Linked DNA regions of Homo sapiens: region 2 is linked to region 1. Evidence: promoter capture Hi-C in human tissues and cell types (Jung and others, 2019). All regions are on one chromosome and are shown on one strand. Each heading gives the region's core, a stretch centred on a gene start or on the middle of the fragment in contact. The rest is flanking DNA. Distances are from core to core; before and after follow the strand shown. Region 1 holds the start of BIN2 (bridging integrator 2). Region 2 overlaps SMAGP (small cell adhesion glycoprotein).

The links. The method cuts DNA at HindIII sites, captures the fragments that hold promoters and counts their contacts. A contact is called where the count stands out against the background at its distance.
Region 2: a contact is called between a fragment that was not itself captured here and the fragment with the promoter of BIN2 in region 1, in 6 of the 25 tissues and cell types used here (aorta, hippocampus, lymphoblastoid cells and 3 more).

Annotation. Positions count from the first base shown.
Region 1 is chr12:51,320,337-51,325,752 of GRCh38, reverse strand. BIN2 (bridging integrator 2) reads left to right here and starts at 1,579. Exons shown (of 13, transcript NM_016293.4): 1 at 1,579-1,731. The coding sequence starts at 1,651. LOC105369767 (a long non-coding RNA gene) reads left to right here and starts at 1,745. Exons shown (of 2, transcript XR_944957.3): 1 at 1,745-2,025; 2 at 2,550-3,385. RefSeq lists silencers at 1,344-1,833, 4,814-5,108 and an enhancer at 1,864-2,053. The HindIII fragment of the contact is 13,760 bases long and covers 1-5,242 here.
Region 2 is chr12:51,242,509-51,247,987 of GRCh38, reverse strand. It overlaps SMAGP (small cell adhesion glycoprotein), which reads left to right. Exons shown (of 4, transcript NM_001031628.2): 3 at 1,157-1,237; 4 at 1,869-3,430. The coding sequence ends at 2,047. DAZAP2 (DAZ associated protein 2) reads right to left here. Exons shown (of 4, transcript NM_014764.4): 4 at 4,055-5,479. Among named protein-coding and RNA genes, the nearest start is that of DAZAP2, 6.4 kb to the right of the region's middle. RefSeq lists enhancers at 1-37, 38-539. The HindIII fragment of the contact is 4,727 bases long and covers 1-3,982 here.

The DNA.
Region 1 (5,416 bases), core at 330-2,829:
GGTGATCCTCCCACCTCAGCCTCCCTGATAGCTGGGACTACAGGTGTGTGCCACCACGCCCAATTAATTTTTGTATTTTTAGCAGAGAGAAGGTCTTGCTATGTTGCGCAGGCTAGTCTCAAACTCCTGGGCTCAAGCAATCTGCCTGCCTCAGCCTCCTAAAGTGTTGGGATTACAGGTGTGAGCCGTGGTGCCCGGCCAGACTTCATTAAGCATCTTAAGGTCAGGGACTGCATTTTATTCATCCTTGTTTCAGAACACCCAGCAATGCCTGGTACACAGTTGACCTTGAGTGCAGTAATGATTGTTTTGGAGAAAGAAGAGGAACACAGTAGCATACAAGGGCCTCTAATTTTGTGTCAGGCCCTATCTTCCCCCTCCACTCCTTAGGAAGTGTTATTTTGACCTTCTTCCCTGCCTTGAGGAAATTTTAACCTGCACTGTAAAATCTGAGTACGTGGTTCCTCCACACCTAGTGTCCTAATCTCAAGCTATCCCCTCAAACAGGTCAGGGAGGAATTTTTTGGAGAACTTCTCCCTAAAGAAACAATAGTTGTCATCTCAACAGCCGCACCCCAATTTGCACAATCTGTGTCTGTGTTCACATTCTGCCTCCATCCAGTACACTGTACTCCAACTAGAAAAACTTGCTCCTCATGCTCAGCACGGGCGTCCATACTATCCTCCTCAGCCTTTTTTCAATGTGATCATTCTCTTGCCTAAGAACCAGCCCCCTACCCTGTTTCTATCTCCAGCTTAGTTGTTCCTCATTTATTTATTTATTTATTTATTTATTTATTTATTTATTTGAGACGAACTGTCGCTCTGTCGCCCAGGCTGGAATGCAGTGGCGCGATTTCGGCTCACTGCAACCTCTGCCTCCCGGGTTCAAACAATTCTCCTGCGTCATCCTCTCGAGTAGCTGGGACTGCAGGCGTGCGCCACCACACCCAGCTAATTTTTGTATTTTTAGTAGCGACGCGGTTTCACCGTATTGGTCAGGCTGATCTCCTAACCTCAGGCGATCCACCCGCCTCGGCCTCCCAAAGTGCTAGGATTACAGGCGTGAGCCACCGCGCCCGGCCTGTTTCTCTCTTTCAAGCCCGGCTCGGGTGTCCTGCCTGCTTTCTGCACTCTATCCCTACCAGTTCCAGGCTTAGAGCCTACCTGGAGCAAGAAACGCAGTGTACATGGCGGCTTCGCATGCATACTCAGAGAACCTAAACGTGTTTTCGATATGGTAGGTCCTCTCGCTGAGTGGAACCCACATCATTTTCTACCCTGCGGTGGCAGTTGCTTTGCAGTGCTCAGCGTGATGGGAACTGGCTTTCCGGAGCGAGTGAGTGTGGGCCCACCACTGAGGACCTGGTTCAGTGAGGCCGAGGTTTCGGGCAGGGGTTGGAGCTCGGAAGCTGGCCTCGAGCGAGCGCTGCCTGAGGGTAGGCCCCGGGCCCGCCCCTCCGAGCCGGCCTGCTCCAGCTGACAGTGGTGGGCTGAGGGGCGGGCCTCAGGGCTGGCCAGGGGCGGCCTGAGGTGGCTCAGGGCTGGGGCCGGATGCGAGGCATGCCGGGAGCCCGCACTTCCTCCTCGGGGGCCTCAGAAAACCACAGGGCGCGGGGCCAGGGCGGCGGCCCCCAGGGAGTTGGCAGGATGGCAGAGGGCAAGGCAGGCGGCGCGGCCGGCCTCTTCGCCAAGCAGGTGCAGAAGAAGTTTAGCAGGGCCCAGGAGAAGGTAGGTGGCCGGGCCTCGCTGTCTGTCTGGCCCACAGGGAGCCGAGGCCGAGGCCGAGCCCGGCCGGGCAGGAGGGGCGGGCAGGGTGCTCAGGGGCCCCGAAGGGTCTGGGCTGACGAGAAGGGTCTCCCGCTCTCCCAGGGAAACGGGAGCGAGGAGTGGGCTTCCATGAAAACTGGCAGATTGGAGAGAGGTCGGAGACCGCCACCCGATCTTGGGCAAGGATAAGGGAAGCTGGGGAGACAACAGTCTCTGGGCAGAACCTTCGACAACCCTCAGGCTGACCCAGAAAAGGTGAAAGAAAGGAAGTGATGGTGGTGGCCACCTTTGTATCAAATTTTGTGCTAGCAATCCAAAATTGGTATTTTACAGATGATGAAATTGGAGGGTAATTTTCCATAGAGGGCAATTTCCCCAAAAACAGCGATGCAGCGGATGCCAGCAGGCACCCCCCACCAAAGGCTTAGAATAATCCTGCATAGTTCTCCCCCTACCTGACCCTGCCTGGCCTCTGGGTGGTGTTTCAGCTGACGTAAGCAGGAGCCCAAATCTGCTTCTTCTACCCTCCCTTTGGCGTTGGGGAGTACACCTCCCAGGGTGATGAACCACATCTGTGTTCAGAGTGTGTCCTTGGTTAGTGTCAGGTAGCCCTGCTCCAGCACTGGCACTTAGGTGGGCTGCCCATCTATTACTTGCTTGGCAATCTAAATTGTGGGGACATTCTCTACACATTTTGATGGCATTTTTGTTTCTACCTGTACAGAATATTTTCTTTGCTTCTAACCTGAGCCTCTGCTCTCCACCTACCAACCCTCTAGTAGACAAGGCGGTTTGGGAAGACATGTCAGCCAGAAGAAAGAGCGAGGGAAGAAAGACAAGAAGGACCTGAGATAGAGTTTCGGTTTTCCTTTTTTTCTCTCTCTCTTTATTAAGCCCAACCTGCCTTCTACAACGGAGAAGTTTTGGTTTTCTAAGAGCTGATGGACTTAGAAGCATTTGGATGAACAGCTCTGCTTACCAACTGAAATATCCCTATTATCTTCTAAAAGTGGAGCACTGCTTTGAGCCCTGGGAAGGCTTAAAGGCAACCAGCTCTCCCGAGTTGATTTATCAGCAGAAAACTGATGGAATGTAGATGTAGCTCCTGACTTTAAGAGACCACAATGGAAGGGAGGTTATTTTCTATCATTTGAGGTCATGTGAAAGAGAGGAGGAAAAGGGAAAGAGTTCGTGTAGCCAGACTTCGTTACTTCACTTACCCTAACTTCACCTTGATCCTAGTTTCAGCCTCTCTGAAGACTTACAAATCTGGTAGACCCGAGAGCAGGGCCTATGGGAAGGTCTAGCTCGAAACAGTGTGGGCGAGCAGGAGGTACTGGAGAGAAGGCCACACTGTGGTTGAAAAAAAAAAAAACCCTAAAAGACAAAACACTCATGAATGATAGTAATTTTAAAAAGACATACCAGCCAGGCACAGTGGCTCACTCCTGTAATCCCAGCACTTTGGGAGGCCAAGGTGGGAGGACTGCTTGAGCCCAGGAGATCAAGACTGCAGTGAGCAGTGATCACACCACACCACACTCAAGCAGAGGGAGACTCTGTCTCAAAAAATAAAAATAAATACATAAAAATAAAAGACATACAATTGATTGTATTTCACTCTTGCATCTTCTGTCTTCATCTAGCCTCTCGTCAACACTAAAACCTTGCTTTGGGCTTTCACTCCTTTGTAAGCATAGACTCCAAACCTTGGCTAAATAATGTCCTGCTCTGGGCTTCAGATCTTGCACCTGTAAAATGAGAGGGTTGATGTTCTTGATGAAACTCAATATGGTAAGAACACTAAATTGAAAAGCTGTCACATTAGACTCAGAGTCAAATACTTCCCAAAGACAGAACCAGTCTCTCAGGTTCTTCTGGCCTGAACCCTGAGGAAGTAGAGAAAGAGGAGCAAACTCAAATCTGCCATGAGGAATTCCCAGCTGATGAAGAAAACAAGATATTCTGAACCTAGACTAGACAAAAGGGTAGGCAAAGGTTGAACTTCGATAAGGTGGGAATGGCCTGGGATGCCGGAAGGGAGCTCAGCTCCGTCAGCCTGAAGCCAGTCCTTGAGTCTTGGGAAGTTATTGAGACCAAGATAAAGAGGGAGAAATTTGCACTAAAATGAAAGAATTCCTTGCAACACTTTTTGCTTTTTCTGCAAGCAGTTGGATGTAATCTTCTGAGTAATAAGTAATAGCTAATGTGTCAAATAGTGAAATGTGTCAAATATCAAGCGCCTATTATGGACCAGAGACAGGGATATAAGAAAGTGATTATCAGCGGGGTGCAGTGGCTCACGCCTGTAATCCCAGCACTTTGGGAGGCCCAGGCAGGTGGATCTCCTGAGGTCGGGAGTTCGAGACCAGCCTGACCAACATGGAGAAACCCCGTCTCTACTAAAAATACAAAATCAGCCGGGTGTGGTGGCGCATGCCTGTAATCCCAGCTACTCAGGAGGCTGAGGCAGGAGAATCGCTTGAACCTGGGAGGCGGAGGTTGCCGTGAGCCGAGATCGCGCCATTGCACTCCAACTTGTGCAACAAGAGCAAAACTCTGTCTCAAAAAAAAAAAAGACAAAGTGATTCTCTCTCCCTTTATGGAGCCAACATTCTACCGATGTCATCTCCCTTCATCTATTCAACACTTTAAGCAGGTTATTAGCATCTCTGTTTTAGAAATAAGGAAACAAGGCTCAAAAGAGATTGGTAGGTAGCAGAAATATTACTGAAACCCAGGTGTCCTGCCTCTGAATCCTAACCTCACTCAGGCTGCTGCTTTACAACGTTCCTGATAAGCCACTCTCACATCTGTGCCTCCCCCACTTCCTGCTGATCCTCTCTCAGGAACAGAGCTCAGAAGTAGAAACACTTTTTGTTCAGGCATCCTCTGAAAAGCTGGGAGTGGAGGTCTGGTGACCATTAAACACAATAGGGATGAAACATTCTTGGTCTGTTTTCCATTTCCCGCCCAAACTCAACATGGGACTGAATTTAAGCTGGCTTTAGAGTGTGTGTGTGTGTGTTTGTGTGTGTGTGTGTGTTTTTAGTATGATACATCTTCTCATTTCCAACTATAGTACTGCTTTCACCATCTGTTTGTGATTTCTCTGTGGCAAACCTCTCAGATCCCCCTGAGAAGGGGCGTTGTTTACCACTCCTTTGTTGGTCTTCTCCTCTGTTGACATCTACTCAGCTTAAATCCCAGAGGGTTAAATTCCACAAATATTTACAGAAAAACTCCTTTGTTCAGGGTACTGGGCTGGACCCAGCAGGGAATTTAGGGGTAAGAGACATTCTTGCTTTGCCAAAAGCTTAAGATCTAGTTAAAAAAAAAAAAAAAAAAGAATAATGATAATAAAATAACTGACCTGAGAGATGCAGGTCTATTCAGAGGACAAAAGGATTGGGGAGAATCGAGAGGTTTTATAGTGGAGGCTGAATTTGAAATAGGAATTATGGGAGATTAGTAGTTTTTCAGACACGTGATCAGAGAGCATTCTAGCTGAGAAGTGCCAGCATAAGCAAGGCATGGAGACTGGAGTGAGAACTACAGCTCAGCTGGAGCACAGGGAGTGGTCAGAGCAAAGGCTGGAAAAAGTATATTAGGACCTTTTAAGGAAAGCTTACTTTATCATATATCC
Region 2 (5,479 bases), core at 370-2,869, 78 kb after region 1:
AACTCTTACCCCTGCTTCAGCTCCCAGGTCAGATATTCCTCCCTTGGGGGGTCGCTTCTGGCTGGAAGACTAGATCAGGCCCCTCGGCTGCACACTTTCCTAAGTGCACTTACAGCAGCTCCTCACCGTGCAAGCTGTGGGGTGCAGTGGAGGGTGAGCCTCGGGAAGCTGGCCGTGTCTGTTTTGCTCGACCTTTCATCTAGCACAGGGCCTAGCAAAGAGGAGGCAGTGGGTGAGTGTTGCTGTTTATGGGATGCCAGTCAGGTCGGGGTGCCTCCTGTGGGTGTTGCCAGGATCAGCCAGCTGGTTTTCCCCAGGAGACCTCTATCCTGCAGTAACCTCTACATTAAAATGCTAATAGGAAAGAATGGAAGGGCTTCCTGACTTCCTGTGTAAACACTTAAAAGGGACTTCTGGAGACCACTCATTTTGTCATGTTCTGTCCCTGGGTAATGACTTTAGGGTGGGACTTTCACGCTCTGAAGGATAAATAAACCCGTAGCAGGAGGGGGTGCAGGATCTATTTTAGGGTAGAGGAGAGGCCTGTTTCAGAACCTTTCAAATTGCAGGGCCTATCCTGGAAGTGTAGAAAAGGGTTTTTAATAGGAGAGGAGCACTATTTCATTATGTTAAAATAATGTTTACAAAGAATTAGTAAGAATGCTGCAAGAAAATGCACATGCTATATAATATAATGTAAATATATACACATACAACTCATTTGATCTCACTTATTGTAAAAATATGCATTCCTAATAATGGCTTATCCTACTGAGTGACTTATTAAATGTCACAACAACGTTTTAAAGTAGGTACTCTTACCTCCATTTTGCAGATAGAGGTTAGGTAATTTTCCCAAGGTCACACAGCTAGTAAAGGACAGAGTTCATATTTGAAACCCAGTCTGTCAGGCTCTATAGCCCCTACTCTTAATCACTATATTATGCAGGGAGAAATCCATCAACATATTGTCTTTGGGTGGTGGTTTATTTTCTTCTTTATTCTCTAGGATTTTCTATTTGGATATACTCTAGGAGTTAAATGATAAACTTTTGAATAGGGAAGAAGGTGGGGTGGTGAAATTTGAAGGCCAAACATATGCTTTCAAACAAAAGAATTCACTCCATTTCCTTTTCCACTTTTCTACATTTTCCAGAAGAACTGATGACCACCCCAATTTTACAGCCCACTGAGGCCCTGTCCCCAGAAGATGGAGCCAGCACAGCACTCATTGCAGGTAATAGACTCTGAGCCAACTCCAAGGGACCTTCTGGATCAAGGGCATCTCTCTCCAGAGGGAGCCTGACCAAATCCATTAATGGGCTCACTCTGGCTTGTAAGTTATATTACACACACACACACACACACACACACACACACACAGCCATAAAAGACTCGGAGGCTTCTGTCAGAGGCACTACCAGTAAATGACAGGTTGGGAGGTGGCCGCAAATAGATATGCATACGGACGTTACACTTGAGTACGTGGGTAGGGACGAGGATATATGTGGTTGGTTGAGTGGGTGAGGAAGAGGGGGAGGATCAGATAAACCACTTCCTGTTAGGATAAGCCATTTCCTGTTCCCTCCTTCCCGTTTCTTTAAGAATCAGGAACTGGTTTGGGAGGCAGTTCAGTTTTGTCAGAAATCAAAAGCATGTGTCCTTAGCTTAAGCACCAGGAGACTCCAGCTATTATGTGCCATGGAAATTGGGGTTGGTGGGGGAACATGGGTTTGGATGGAAGTGGACACTAGTTAATGAAAACAAGAGGATCTTTACGAAAACAGTGACTAAATCAGATGACTCCAGGAACTACTGAGACATCCTCAATCCTGAAACATCTCTACATTTTCCCTCTCCTTTCCAAGTTGTTATCACCGTTGTCTTCCTCACCCTGCTCTCGGTCGTGATCTTGATCTTCTTTTACCTGTACAAGAACAAAGGCAGCTACGTCACCTATGAACCTACAGAAGGTGAGCCCAGTGCCATCGTCCAGATGGAGAGTGACTTGGCCAAGGGCAGCGAGAAAGAGGAATATTTCATCTAATGACTCCCAGGCCCCAAGGAGCTTATTCCTGGCTCCATCGCTAACACGTTGACTGCTTATTATGGGAAAGTTTTCTCTGAAGCCAGGGAGAAGCATTGATTGATGTGGGCAAATCCAAGCTCCAGCCAGGTCGCAGTCCCAAATGCCGACATCACTGACTCCAGGGACCAGGGACATGGAGAAAGCTGTTTATGATATCTTTAACCAGGCCCTCTTACTAGAGCTGGTGTTTGTGACTGGCCAACAAGATGTGGCTATGCCAGGGGACATCTGAGTATGTGCCCAGTCATCTTTTTTCACAGGTTGAAGGGAGAGAAAAGATTTTGAGTTAAGGTCATTGGCTGCTCTACTCTGTCCCCTACCTGGTCACCTAGTGATAGCCCCAGTGGAGATACTGTCCATACAAGGTCTTCCCAGAGGCTGGATACCACAGTAAAAGGCCAGGCCAGGAGGGGTAGGAGACTATGGAGATCTTACCTCCTGATAAATGTGCTACACCCCCTAATCTGAGCCCTTCCTTTCCGTGTTCCCCAACAACCTCATGCTTACGTGATTTTTATTCAAATTAAAAATTTTCATTGCTACAGAAATCAGATTCTCATGTGCAAGAAGTAACTACATTTTGACTTATTTTTGCTTAAACATTTTTGACATTTTCTTTTCCCTATTTAACGCCTTTACATATGTTCTCTTCCAAGCAATAAGAACCCTAGGAAAGTTCTAGAAGTTTGCAGAACTATCTCAGGGATTTGAGACAAAGATGGTGCAGGAAAGCTTGTTCCAGGGGAACATCATTAGAAACATACCCTGGGAGGGCCGGGTTCGGTGGCTCACGCCTGTGATCCCAGCACTTTGGGAGGCCGAGGCAGGCGGATCACAAGGTTAGGAGATCGAGACCATCCTGGCTAACACGGTGAAACCCCGTCTCTACTAAAAATATATAAAAAAAATAGCTGGGCGTGGTGGCGGGCGCCCATAGTCCCAGCTGCTTGGGAGGCTGAGGCAGGAGAATGGCTTGAACCCAGGAGGCGGAGCTTGCAGTGAGCTGAGATTGCACCACTATACTCCAGCCTGGGCAACAGAGTGAGACTCCGTCTCAAAAAAAAAAAAAAAAAAAAAAGTACCCTGGGAGATGAGTTGGTTCAAGCCTCCATCCTGGCAAGGGCCAGAATTTCCCAGAATCCCTTCTACATATATACAGAAGGAACCAGAAAAAATCAACCTACCACCTTTCCCAGTGTATCCTCAGAATCAAGCCAAGAAGCTTCTTGGATTTTAGTCTCAAGATAAGTTGTGTTTAAAAGGCACATTTTGGTATAAATTATTAGCTCATCAGATATTGTTCACTTTGGAATTAAAGCTAGATCTCCTTTGAAGTCTTAATGTATTGCCTCTGTTGTCCAAGCTCAAACCCAACCAAGTTAAGATCAAGAGCTGAGGAATCTGGCTGGGTGCAGTGACTCACTGCCTGTTATCCCAATACTTTGGGAGGCTGAGGCAGACAGATCACTTGAGGTCAGGAGTTTGAGACCAGCGTGGCCAACGCAGTGAAGCCGTCTCTACTAAAAGTACAGAAATGAACCAGGTGTTGTAGCAGGTGCCTGTAATCCCAGCTACTCAGGAGGCTGAGACAGGAGAATCACTTGAACCCGGGAGGTGGAGGTTGCAGTGAGCAGACACTGCCACTGCACTCCAGCCCGGGTGACAGAGGGAGACCCTGTCTCAAAAAATAAATAAAAGAGCTGAGGAATCTATCTTGGCAACCTAGATTCTATGAGTTTTCAGTATTTCTCCACATAGAACATTGGAGAAACTAAAGGTCATCCTCAACGTATACAAATTGCTATACCAGAACCTTTTCTTCAAGCCAAACTTTAGAGCAAGTTAGGAGAATCAATAGTTCCCTCATTTCTAAGTTTAGGTCCGAAATTCCAAAATTTGTAAGAGGTTGGAGTAAAATGATGAAAAGTTGAACATCTGGAATGGAATTCATGAAATGATCAAGTCTTAGGCTTGTACTCCTGCCTTTATTTCAAAGCGTCATCAAAGGAAACAGAGCAGCAGCAGCACCTAGCTGAATTCTAGATGGGATATAAATAAAATATATATAGAAGAAATCTAAAAACAAGCTAAGTAAAGAATCCTTGCAGTGAGGTGTAATGCAACTTCATCACTTTATTCAAATCTTCAAAATAGTCTTTATTCTACATTTTTAGTATAAAAATTCCACAAGTTAAGTGCACCACAGTGTAGAGAGAGACATACAACGCTGAACTTCCATAACAGTCAATGGTACAGTCAAACATCACATGTACAGAACACACAATTTAGATGAACTGAAATTATAAGATAAAATAAAATAAAATCCAATTTCAGAAAACAAAAATCAAAACATTAAGGATCCCTGAAATATTCTTAAACCCTAATGAGATTTCACTGGACTCAAGTCATTTTGTAGTGAGACATTCACAATATGACCCTATTAACCCAGTCTAGGAATTCTGGGGAGCCGAATGAGTGGCCGCATCAGACACTCTGACAAAAAATGGTAACCAGTTTTTGATCTGAAAACTCCTCTTAATTTAGCTCTGAACACATCAATCAAGCTTTTGAAATGCATCCTCCTCCTTGCCCCTCATATTTTAAACCAACTGTTGTTCACAGTACAGTTTGCACGACATCTTTGTTCAAACATAGCTCAGTTTTTCTGGCACCAAAGCAAATTTGGGTTAGGTTCGTGTATGCAGAGACAACCTATGAGGAGGGCCCATAAGGCACCCTCCACTTTTGCCTGAGGAGATACGAAAGCAGAAGTAATGGCATCTGTACTTGGGGCACAGAGAGGGTTTCAGAGGATCCTTGTGAAACACTAGTTAAAAGATGACGAGTGGGGAGAAGTGCGAGGAAAGAAGGAAATTAGTCTGACTGGCTTTCTGTCCTGCACCATTGATTCAATGGAGACTGGCGGGAGGAAATGGAAGACTAGGGTTGGAGATGGGATGGGTGGGGCAAGGGATGGAAAGGAAAAGGCAGACAACTAATGCGTTCCATTTATAACAAGTAATATATATCAAAGACTTAAAGGAGATTAAAGACCAATCAGAATAATTTGGCAACTTTAATTCTTAGGAAGATCAAAGTTCCCTCCAAACCTAATTTGATGTTTTATTACTAAAAGCAAAGACCAGTATGGTACAGTATTACTCCAGAGAAATTAAAGGAAAATCCTTAGGGCGGCTTCACCCACATTCATTTTATGAATGGATACCTCCCCTACCTCAAAATGCTTTAGGGAGGTACTGCTACCATTACATGGTTCCTTATTAAATTTGAAAAGTGCCTGAAAGTTTGGGCACCAGAAAGACACCCCAACAACATGTGTCTAAACTGCAACTTCAGGTTAATATGACTAAAGCAGTTACATTGTGAGAA